3 separate regions of the Homo sapiens genome follow, and regions 2 and 3 are each linked to region 1. The links are contacts of gene promoters, found by promoter capture Hi-C in human tissues and cell types (Jung and others, 2019). All regions are on one chromosome and are shown on one strand. Each heading gives the region's core, a stretch centred on a gene start or on the middle of the fragment in contact. The rest is flanking DNA. Distances are from core to core; before and after follow the strand shown. Region 1 holds the start of ARL8A (ARF like GTPase 8A). Region 2 overlaps SYT2 (synaptotagmin 2). Region 3 overlaps KDM5B (lysine demethylase 5B).

Region 1 (3,721 bases), core at 676-3,175:
GTGAAACGCTGTCTCTACTAAAAATACAAAAAATTAGCCGGACGTGGTAGCACACACCTGTAGTCAGCTATTCGGGAGGCTGAGGCAGAAGAATTGTTTGAACCCTGGAGGTGGAGGGTGCAGTGAGCTATCATGCCACTGCACTCCAGCCTGGATGACAGAGCAAGACTCCATCTCAAAAAAAAAAGAAAAAAGAAAAAAAGAAATGTGTTGCTCACAGTTCTGGAAGCTGGGAAGTCTAGGATCAAGACCCTTGCAGACTCAGTGTCTGGCTATTAGGCAGAGCCTTCTTTCTGTCCTTGCATGGTGAAAAGGTTGTGGGCTGGTATTCTTCCCCCTAATCCCACCGGCCCCCTTTATAAGGCTCTACCCTCATGACTTAATCACCTCCTAATACCATCACTTTAGGGATTAGGACTTCAACCTATGAATTTGGGGGGACACAAACATTCAGTCCATAGCCTTTATCTTAGGAGCTAGAGGAGGACTTATAAAGGGCAGAGGTTAGAAAGATGGTGCTTAATAAACCAGAATATTGGCCAGGCTCATGCCTGTAATCCCAGCACTTTGGGAGGCTGAGGCAGGCAGATGGCTTGAGCTCAGGGCTTCGAGACCAGCCTGGACAACATGGCAAAACCCCGTCTCTACCAAATATACAAAAATTAGGCTGGCATGGTGGCGCATGCCTGTAGTCCCAGCTACTCGGGAGGCTGAGGTAGAAGAATCACCTGAGCCCGAGGAGGTGGAGGCTGCAGTGAGTCGAGATCCCACCGCTGCACTCCAGCCTGGGCCACACAGTGAGACCCCATCAAAAAAAAAAAAAAAAACAATATTATGCTAGCCGAAACCTTGTGATTCTTCTACTTTGGTAACTGTTTGACTATTTGGGGTCATCTAACTCCAGTTGATTGGACAGATATGGTTGATATTGATAGTTTACCCACTTTTGACTAAAACAATAGACTACATATGACTACATTTGAAAACCAAACCCCAACGGGCAGCCAGCATAGGCTGGGGACTGCCCGAAGCCTGAGCCTACCCGGGACTGCCAGCTGAGGTTGTCAGCCTGCCTGAGCAGGTCCTATGGGTGGGTCTTGCAAGGAGAGGGGCAGGAGTAAGGCATCTTTGCAGGCACTCCAGACCCACTTCAAGAGGAGAACTATCACTTCTCCTCCTGAAGAATACTCTGCTTTTCACCAAAACAGGGCAACATTTTCCTTTGTCACAGACGTTCCTCACTGAAAACCCCCTGCCAGGACTGTATCTGTTTGGGTATCTTGGGGATGCTGGTAAAAATCCGGAGCAAGTTCAAGCGTCCGTTTCACTTGGGGCCAGAGGCTTCCTAACAAGTGGTCGGGGTAAATTGTGGTGAACAAAACAAGATGGAGTATTAAAAGACCCGAATACGGTTGTCCCTCTGCACTGGGTGCATTTTGAGAGGATGGGACTGTACCCAGGAATGCTCAGAGGCAAGGGTTCAGGGACAAAAAAGCCTCCATCTGCCTCCCTGTCGTAGAGATCTCATCTCCGTGTCCTGGGAAGTGGGTGACCCACTCTCCTTCAACCTGAAAAGGCTCCTGCTTAACCGGAACCTCACCCACCTCGAGCCCACCACCCTTTAAGAAAGGGGGTGCCAGTCAGGGCGCGGCAGTCGGGGACAGGGTCTAAAATAAATTAGACCCCATTTCCCAAGCGCCTCTCGACGCCAGCTGCCGGTCAACCCCCGCCGCTGAAGCCTGCGGATTCCCTGCTCACCCCACCTGCGGATTCCCTGCTCACCCCACCTGCGGGTGCGGCCCCTGGCCCCCCGGCTCCAGCGAGGGAGGAGCGCGCGCTCGGGTGCGAGCAGGACACGGCCCGGCCGCGAGGGAGGGCGGCGGCGGCGGCGGAGGAGGAGGGCGCGGAAGCCACACCCATCGGCGAGCCGATTCCGGGGCAGCGAGTCGTCGGCAGCCGCGCTCGAGCCTCCGCCCGCACCGAGCCGCGGGACCCGGGCCGTACCGGGGAGGGGCCGCTCCGGGCCGCAGCGCGAGGGCAGCGAGGGGCGGCGGGGACCTGGCACCGGGCGGGGCCGGCGGCAGCGACCATGATCGCTTTGTTCAACAAGCTGCTGGACTGGTTCAAGGCCCTATTCTGGAAGGAGGAGATGGAGCTCACGCTGGTCGGGCTTCAGTACTCGGGCAAGACCACCTTCGTCAACGTGATCGCGGTACGAGGGCGTCGGGCGCGGGGTCCCCGGGCGCGGGCCGCGGGTCGGGCCTGTCCCCGCCCGCGCCGCGCCCTGCTGAGCCGGGGTCGCCGCCTGGCATAGCCGGGCACGGCCGGGCGCCGGGCGGGGGAGGAGCCGGCCCCGAGCGCTTGGGGCCTAGTACGGCCCGTGCCGTGGGGGACCGGGGCGGCGCGCGACCCGCTCTCTCACCCGGGCCGGTACTGCACGGCTGGGGGCAGGGGAAGGGGGACGAACAGACAGGGCCGGTGCCACGGGGCAGGCGGCACCGAGGGGCTCTCGAAGCAGGAGGGACCCGCTGCCGGCTGAGACGGGCCCCCTCTGGCCCCCGCGCAAGGGGGCATGACGGGGCGAAAGTGCACGGGCCTTCCTGTCCCGCGGGTAGAGGGTCACGGGACGGGGCGGCCGAGAGGCTTGAGGAGGGGGTTTGGGCAAGCCCAGCCCCACCCAGAGGGCTTAACCCCTCCTTGCCGGAAGAGGAAGCCCCGGCCCTATTGAGGGGGAGGGGAGGTATCCCCCGGGGTAGAGGAGTCAGCTGAGGCCCTTGGCTCAAGCCCAGACTCCTCCCCAACTTCTCCCCGACCCGCAGTGTCTAGCCGGGGGTCCAGGGAGGATCGCATGGTAACGGGAGTTTGGAGACTCCGTCTGGCTCAGAAGTTTGCAGGAGCAGGTGCTCCCGACAAGAGAGGATGAGGTGTAGGGGCACGGCCCACTGGGGCCTTGGGAGAGTGGCTCTAAGGGCTTTGGGTCGTCAACACTGAAGTGGGTGATTGTAAGTCTTTCAGCGCCAGGGGAGTGGTGGGGAAGGAGTTAAAATCTCTCTCAAAAAAGGGGAAGATGAGCTCCATGGGTGTGAGCTGAGGCTGCCGTAATGGCTGCGGCCTGCCTGTCAGAGCCAGGCTAGACAGGGCTTGTGGGTCGAGGAAGCATGGGACAGGGGCTGGGGTTGTCCAGGGACCTGGCCCCAGTCCCAAAGCTGAGGTTTCCCACAACTGTGAGTTGGCCAGATAGTAACCAAAGATACTGATGAGATAGGTCAGCAGAGGAATGTATCCAGCCGGCCTAGGTACCTCTACCTGTCCGTGTTGTTGCCCCACCTTGCAGAAGATGGGCCTCCTCGACAGTTCTCAGCGTCCTAGAAGGCAGGGGACGTCACTTCATTGGACCTGAGGCATGAAGGCAGATGGAAAGCTCGAGGGGCGGGCATCCTGTGGTTACACAATTGAACACTGGCTTCCTTTCCCAAACATGCTCTGCAAATGACCTCTGCCCTTTCTCGACCCAGTGTCTCCTGTCTCCTGACCTGACAGGGCAGGATCTTCAGGCCAATGCTGCGGTTTTGGCACAGTAATTTTCGGAGCTAACACCCCTGGGCTCTGTCTGCCTAGGCTCTGCCCTTGGGGTCAGAGACCCTCTGGTTAAACTTGGCATTGACTTAGGCTCTTGGATTCCCAGAGCAGGCACATAACACCTGGACTCTGACCTGACTCT
Region 2 (3,654 bases), core at 1,050-3,549, 560 kb before region 1:
GCAGGAGAAGGGAGTGCAAGGACAGAAGAGGTGCTGGCCCAGGAGGGGCCACTGCAGTGGGGAGGGAAGGGCAGAGGCCCCGTGGGCAGGTAGTACAGGTTGAGTTAGCTTATAAGGAGGAGGAAGTCCTTAGGATCTGGGGGCGCCCAGGAAGCCAGAAAGGTGAACTGGGGTCTGACCTGGAAAGCAAAAGGGTGCCCTTCTCCCTCCCCTACTGCTGCCGCCCTGCGGGGCCTCTCCCAGGTGGAATAGATTGTCCTCCATCCAATCTGTCTGGATCCCCATAACCTGGCACTTCATTAGAGGGGGTGACAGAAGCAGGGAAGCCCTTAATCCTTTCAACCATCTCTCCCTACTTAAGACTAAGTCCAGCTTTGGGGCTGCTAGAAACATCTCTGTGACCAGCAGAGGTGCTGAAAAAAGCCATGCCCAGTGCCCCAAAGGCGGGCCCGAGTGGCAGGTGGAAGGGGGCAGGGTGGCTCTGATGCAGTGGGACGTGCCTGGCATCCTGGTCCTGTGGAATGAGAGTGGTGGTCTGGCAGGCACTGCAAGCTGCAGCGTGTGTCAGGGCCCTGGGGGTGAGTCAGCGTCAGGGGTCCACGCCAGGCACACTGCAGCCTAGGGAGTCCAACTCCAACCCATCTCCTCCCATGCCCCTGGAAAATGGCCAGTGCCCACTGAACCCCGACTGAACCACCTTTCCCTCAGGGTGGCTGCCTCTGCTCTGCTTGGCTGCCAGGCAGATCCCTGGCTTCACCCTCTAGGACTCCCCCCAGAGGCTTGGCTTTTTCTGGAGATCTTTTGGGCTTAATCCTTACCTTCTCCCCTCCTTGTCTTGCCAAAGGAGGAGGAGAGGGAGGCAGAGGAAAGTTTCTAGGTTATAGCCTCACATAGACCTGGCCCACCATTCCCTGGAGGAAGAGAGACCAGACCACTCTGCTGGGAGTCTGCTTTGTTCTGCAGTCCAGGAGCTTGGTCCAGGGAACTTGGGTTTTCTTTTGGGGGAAGGGGGTGATTATGCAGGAACATTTCTTTTTCAGCTTTGGGGTCTGACATCCGCAGAACAGGACCAGGGGAAGCAAAAAGTGTTGGTGTTCGTAAACATTGACTTTTCACCTAGAGAAGCTTGCAACTGGCTTCAATTTAGGACTGAAGCTGGTTTCACCTGGGCAAAGCATGTACCTTGCTGAAGACCTCGCAGGGCCGAGGAGACCCTTTCTGGAGCTGGGTCTGGGCTCACCTGCCCTCACATTGCAGCTGGAGCTCGTTTTATTCCTTCTACCCTTAGGCAGCTTCCAGGCAGGTGTGACAGGGCTGTCTATGATACTGCAGAGACCTGGGGGTGGGCTTTGGAGGTGGCTGGAGAAGCCTCTTCCTTGCCCTTCTCAAGCCCTGGGGACCAGGCTACCCCAGTGTTCCCCAGCCCCTAGGCAAGCCTGACCTCTAGTCATTCTTTCTGCCTCCATCTGAACATTATCATATCTCAATGGGGTCTCCTTTTTCTTCCCCGCCAGGCCTGTGCCGCCCTCTCAGGGGAGAGTAGATAGAGGGGCAGTGAGTGCACTGGAAGCAGGGGGACAGAAGGCAGTGAGGACAGAGTGGGAGGAGGTTGGGCTTCATTTGCCTGGAAGAATGACCATCATTCCCTTCCCTGGACAGAAGCATCCTCGTGGAGGACTTAAGGCTGCAGATGAGTAGAAACACTACTTCACTTGGCTTTGGGATTTGCTCTGTGGACTTCCCCAGTCTAGGCAGGTCCTAGCTGAAGCCAGAGTATCCCCACCACTGAAGGTCCAGGGTGGTGGGGATACTCTTTAAGAACTGGAACAGCAAGTCAGAGGGAGTAATGGGGGGGCAGGGTCACTCAGTGCAGTGGTTAAATATGAAGCACCAAAGAATGGAGGCTAGGAGATAGACAGGCCTGGGTTCAAATCCCAGGGCTGCTAAGTACAAAGTCTGACATTTGCAACAAGTATTTTATTAGTGAGTACCTACCATGTGCCACTATTGTAGTCTCTCTGGGTGGGGAGGTGAGCACAGCCGCAGGCCCTACACATGTTACTGAGCCACTCAGCATCCCTTCTGCATTCGTTCCACTATTGCATTTTGAGAATCTGTGCTAGGCAATGGAGATTCAGGTGGGAACAAAACAGACCTGTTTCCTGCCCTCGTGGCATTTACAATCTAGTGAATACCACACAATTAGATAATTACATAAAGAATTCATCATGACTGTGCCAAGAGTTATGAAGGTATGTAGGAAGCTTCGAGAGCATGTAACAGGATGATCTGACAATGTCTGCACAGTTTTCTCTAAAGAACAGAGGTAATAATGCTTAACTCTCAGGGTAGTATTGTAGAACTGATAACTATTCGTGTTATTTTAGAAGTAGCCCCTGGACCACCAGACAGATGCAGTTCTAAATTCCCTACGTGAATAATCCATCCATAGGCAACAAGTTGATTCTTCATCTTCCACTCAGTCAGAGAAGCCAGGCCAGAGAAGCTGGGATTCAGTTATGGCTTCTCCTGGACTCCAGAAGCCTGTGATAAATAATATAGTTTCATTGGAGAAACATCAAGTCAGAGATTTTTTTCTAAGTGGCAGTATAGTGACTACAGCCAGATTGCCAGGGTTCATCCTGGTTCTGCCACTTGCTGTGATTTTGGGCGAGTCAATCACACTCTGTTTTTTAGTCTTGCCATCTGTAGAATGGAGCTAAAATTTGTAACTATGACGTAGATTGTTCTTGGTGAGGATGAAATGGGTTAATTCCTGTAAAGCGTGTAGAACAGTGCCTGGCGCGGGAGGAGTAAGTGCTTTTCATCCTTGGGTGGCCTGCGTGCTCCTTTTCCTGCCCACACACACAACACTGTCTTGGGTTCTCCAGCTGCAGGGAGCACTGTCCACCTTTGATATTCTTAAAACTCAAGGGAAGGAGTTGCCCTCACCGTCTTGGTGGTCAGTCCTGCATTTCATCCCCCTCACTCGAAGACGGTTTTTATGCCTAATGAGTCTTTTCTTGCCAAAGCTTGATTTCTGGGAAGGATTTGTCCCAGCAATCCTTCATTTTCATCTCTGGAACTGACAGTTCAAGGAAGTAGCCAGAGTGATGGGTAAATTTGGATCCAGGCCCAGAGGGACCTGAGAGTCACTGTGAGCCTGGAGGGCAGGGGAACACCTAGCTGCCAGCCCCCTCCCCTAGAGAGGCTGGGTCTAAAATTAAACATCCAGAAGGACTCCCCAGGCCAGGTGCAGTGGCTCACACCTGTAATCCCAGCGCTTTGGGAGGCTGAGGTAGAAGGATCGCTTGAGCCCAGGAATTCCAGAGCAGGCTGGGCAACATATGGAGACCCTGTCTCTACAAAAAATTTAAAAATTAGCTGGGCATGGTGGCACACCAGGTTAAGCAGGAGGATCGCCTGAGCCCAGGAGGTCGAGACTGCAGTGAGCTATGGTCATGCCACTTCACTTCAGCCTGGAAAACAGTGAGATCCGGTCTCAAAAAAAAAAAAAGGACTCCCAAAATCCAAGATGAGCAGTAGATATTGTAGAAGCTTCCTCCCTGGATCATTTTCTGATGAGGATAAAGTCCCTGCTGGCTGAGTGCCAGGGAGGAGGTTAGATTCTGAAAGCCCCTCACACTTAGGGAA
Region 3 (3,918 bases), core at 1,419-3,918, 580 kb before region 1:
AGTGTCTGAGAGGCTTCTGGGGCAAGGCACAGTCTGGGGTGGGGGTATGCTTTATTTTACTCCTCGAAACATAACCAGACAGCTGGTGTGAGGACTGGGCGATTAGACTGAGGATGACCCATTTTGAATGCTGACTTAGTTGAAGGATACTCCTTAATGTCCTGTTTCTTAACATAGTTAAGGATACTGCGGCTGCTGCCACTTCCTTCTAGTGAACTAACTGACCCATCACATTTAAGGCCCCTGAGAATATAGTTAGGATAGAAATCTACTAGGAAGCCTGAAGCCAAATTAGGGAAGAACTTCACTAAAGATAGCATGAGGGCTGATGTTGGCATTTAGAATTTCATTTTTCATGGCAAATTTCATTTGCCATACCAAGTAGTATGGCACAATCATTGAATGTGTTCAGTTAATGCGCCTTACACCTATAAGGTGTGGGGGTGTACATCCTTCAAGAAGGAAGATTATTAGTGTGGTTCCTCAGGAGCCTGTAGGTCACAGGATAGACATAAACACCTAGACAGAAACTATTATAGTAGTTAGTCATTCAGGGATTTGGTGAAAGGAAGACTCTTAGTGGGCACCTCTCCATCTTCTGGTATTGGTTGGTTAATTGGAAGGGTAATCACGTCTTTAACATTCCTTTTTCCAGTGATCCTTTGGTAGCATTAACAGTGATAGGGGAAGGAAGTATGTTAAACCCAAACTGGTTGTCTTATACAAGACTGGGAGGGGAGTGGTTAAGATGCAGTATTTTTTTCCCGTGTAGATTGGGGGATCATCTGATTTCTAATTTACATGTTCTCTTTAGCTTCATTAGTTTTAGTAATAGGTGACCCATAGGCGAAAATTGAACTTTCCTATCTTCCACCCAGAATGACTGTTGCCGAGGGAAGCGAGATGGAATTAACAGTCTTGAGAGAAAACTGAAGAGACGCCTGGAAAGAGAGGGCCTCTCCAGTGAGCGGTGGGAACGAGTTAAGAAAATGCGGACCCCCAAAAAGAAGAAAATCAAACTGAGCCACCCCAAGGACATGAACAATTTCAAGTTAGAGAGAGAGCGTAGCTATGAATTAGTTCGTTCTGCTGAAACTCATTCCCTGCCCTCAGACACATCCTATTCCGAACAGGAAGACTCTGAGGATGAAGATGCCATCTGCCCAGCTGTGAGCTGCCTGCAGCCAGAAGGAGATGAGGTCAGTGAGGTTTGGGCCATAGAGGACGTGCTTTCCCTTAACTCAGAAACCCTGTAAGCTAGACCTCATCTCGCTGGGTCTTTCTCCTCTGCTTATCTGCTTTGAGCTGATCTGAATGGATTGCTCAGCCCTTCCCCCACTGATATCTGTGCTCTTACCATCGTTCCTGGGTCTCCTCCCTTTTCTTGAAGAAACTCTTGTTCTTCCCTTTTTCCTTTTCTTGCTCTTCCAGCTTTCACCTTCCCGGCGCTAAGAAGGTGGGAGGGATGCTGATGTGATGCCCTTTGGCTTACTTATCACAGGGCAGCGCTGTCTTAACCCCAAAGCAGACACGACTTGAAGAATGACTTTGACTCGGTTGCTTTGGCTAGGGGGCCAGCTACACTCATTTGGCTTAGCTGTTGTGCCAGAGGTCCCAGTGGTGGGACAGTGGCTGTTATTGGCAAACGGCCTGAATTTCTTGAGGCTGGCCTGCCCAATTTTGAATCCATTTTTTCCTCTGAAAACCCCATCTTCCTGCTCTTTGTAACCAGGTGGACTGGGTCCAGTGTGATGGCAGCTGCAATCAGTGGTTTCATCAGGTCTGTGTTGGTGTCTCCCCAGAGATGGCAGAGAAAGAAGACTACATCTGTGTGCGCTGTACTGTGAAGGACGCACCAAGCCGAAAGTAAAAACACAAAAACAGATACCCCCCTACTTAATGTAATTCAGGACTCCAACCAAGAGGATTTCTTCAAATCTCAGCAAAGCTACAGGACTGGTACTCAAGCCAGCCTGTAAACGGTGCTATTTCTATTCCTTATGGGATCATTTTTCCAGGACTCTTTGAAGAAAAGAAAAAACAACTAAAAAAATTTTTGACACTTTTTGTATTTTTTCCTTAAGAGCTATTTGTGGTTGTTGAGGTTTGAAAAGCTGACTGTTTTTTTTGCAGGGGTTCCCACCAATTTGGAAGGCATTGAAGCTTGCACCTTTTCATGTACAGCATTAAAATTTTACCTCTCTCTGGGATTTACCAGCTTAAGAGTCCAACTCACTTCCAGTGCCCAAAAGGGCACCCACCAGAAATTCCAGTAAATCCTCATTTGAGGAAGCTCTCCCTTGTTTACTCTGTTACCACATTGGGGAAATTTTTAAGTTTTTCACTTTGGGAGTTTTTGTTTGTTTCTTCTTTTCCTTTATCCACTTTTCTTCTTCCTGGTAGACTAGGTTTATTTATCTGAGCAATAACTTCTATGTTGGTTTCAGTGGCTGGAATTAAAACAAAACAAAACAAACTTCCAAACAGTGTGTTGGTGCTTTAGCGATTGATTGATGTACAGAACACAAATGTCTAGTTTCTAGTGTCACTGATGAACTAGTGATGTAGAAAAGAGACTTCTCTGTAAGTAATTGCCACAGCTGTATTTTGGCTTTCTCCCTGTCCCTTCCTTTCTCCCCTATTTTTTGGTAGCTTGTATCAAATGTTACAGTTTATATTGTGGAATAAATCCTTCGTCCTAACATAACACTAAATGCTGATTATTTAGAGCCATTAGAGCACAGCTTCTTCTGCCCCTCTACTGTTGCACAGCCAGAAGGGGCTGCTTGCTTTTGCCTCTGCCCAACCAGGTTGCAGTAGCAGTGGATGTTAGCCTGCAAACAACATTAGGGGATTCTTCTTTTGTGTCCTGCTCTGTTTGGTGGGCCATATGCCTACAGCCCTCACTAACAAAGAACCCCTCTGTCTTCAAGGACTAGAACCTATCTTTAAAGCCGTGCTCTTTTAAAATAAGCTTTCTCAGAATGTTGGCAAATCACTTCAATCCTCAAATCAGTCTTCCTTGTGGAATGCTGCCTTTATTATATTTGAATTGACAGGGGAACTTGGTTTAGGGTTAAGACGTTGGAAGGAAATCTAAGGAAAATTAATCCTCACAGAGGTCCGGGTTTAGTATATGTCTTGAGAGGAGACTTGTGAATTCCCAGACTCTGCCTCCTGGTTTCCTTTCTCATTTCTTTCTAACTGTAGCTATCATTACTGGCTGTGGATAGCCCATAGCTATTTTCCTTGCTTTTCTTTTTTAAAGGGGTCTGTTCTGCAGTGGAGAAGACATTCTGGTGACCAGACTTTTGCTTACCTTTTCCTATTCTGTTGCCAATTTTTGTTTTCCCCACATTCTATAGCCATAAACCTGAAGATGAGTAAAACTGGTGGGTCTTTAATAAAACAACAACAAAAACAGCAGTTTGTGATATAGCAGAGGTTTAAATGTACCCTCCCCTTTTATGCACTTCAAATAATTAAATCTCTTTAAGAATGACTTCTAGTTGTCTGCAGTTTTCTGCAGTTGTTGTGATGTTTCTCTTCGTCTGATGGTGGTTCTGGGGCCAATAGAGAAGAATAGTCTCCAGAGTACAATTTGGAATCATCGTGGTTTGGCCTTGTTAGTATTCAAATTCTTAGAATCCCCTCCATCACCCCCGACTTTGAGATAGGATGCCAACTGTCCCAGTCCTCACCTTCCATTGAGAAATTAAGCTTAAAAGGAGACCCTGCTGCTAATATAAAGCCACTGCCTTTAGAGAGCTTTTGCCATCTTAGTAAGCACAACCCCTACCCCCATCCCCACTAGTTTTTCTTCTTCACCTGTGGGTGGTGGTACACAGTCCCTGACAATAGCATCTTTGAGGAAGTCAGATCTTTGTATCTCTGAGTGAGTTAGAAAAGGTAGGCATG

What was found. The method cuts DNA at HindIII sites, captures the fragments that hold promoters and counts their contacts. A contact is called where the count stands out against the background at its distance.
Region 2: a contact is called between a fragment that was not itself captured here and the fragment with the promoter of ARL8A in region 1, in 1 of the 25 tissues and cell types used here (lymphoblastoid cells).
Region 3: a contact is called between a fragment that was not itself captured here and the fragment with the promoter of ARL8A in region 1, in 1 of the 25 tissues and cell types used here (spleen).

The regions. Positions count from the first base shown.
Region 1 is chr1:202,142,941-202,146,661 of GRCh38, reverse strand. ARL8A (ARF like GTPase 8A) reads left to right here and starts at 1,925. Exons shown (of 7, transcript NM_138795.4): 1 at 1,925-2,212. The coding sequence starts at 2,090. RefSeq lists silencers at 1,725-2,434, 2,935-2,984. The HindIII fragment of the contact is 36,256 bases long and covers 1-3,721 here.
Region 2 is chr1:202,705,586-202,709,239 of GRCh38, reverse strand. The region is part of intron 1 of SYT2 (synaptotagmin 2); the gene reads left to right. Among named protein-coding and RNA genes, the nearest start is that of SYT2, 3.0 kb to the left of the region's middle. The HindIII fragment of the contact is 4,055 bases long and covers 272-3,654 here.
Region 3 is chr1:202,726,988-202,730,905 of GRCh38, reverse strand. It overlaps KDM5B (lysine demethylase 5B), which reads left to right. Exons shown (of 27, transcript NM_006618.5): 26 at 879-1,199; 27 at 1,733-3,918. The coding sequence ends at 1,870. Among named protein-coding and RNA genes, the nearest start is that of SYT2, 18 kb to the right of the region's middle. The HindIII fragment of the contact is 3,837 bases long and covers 750-3,918 here.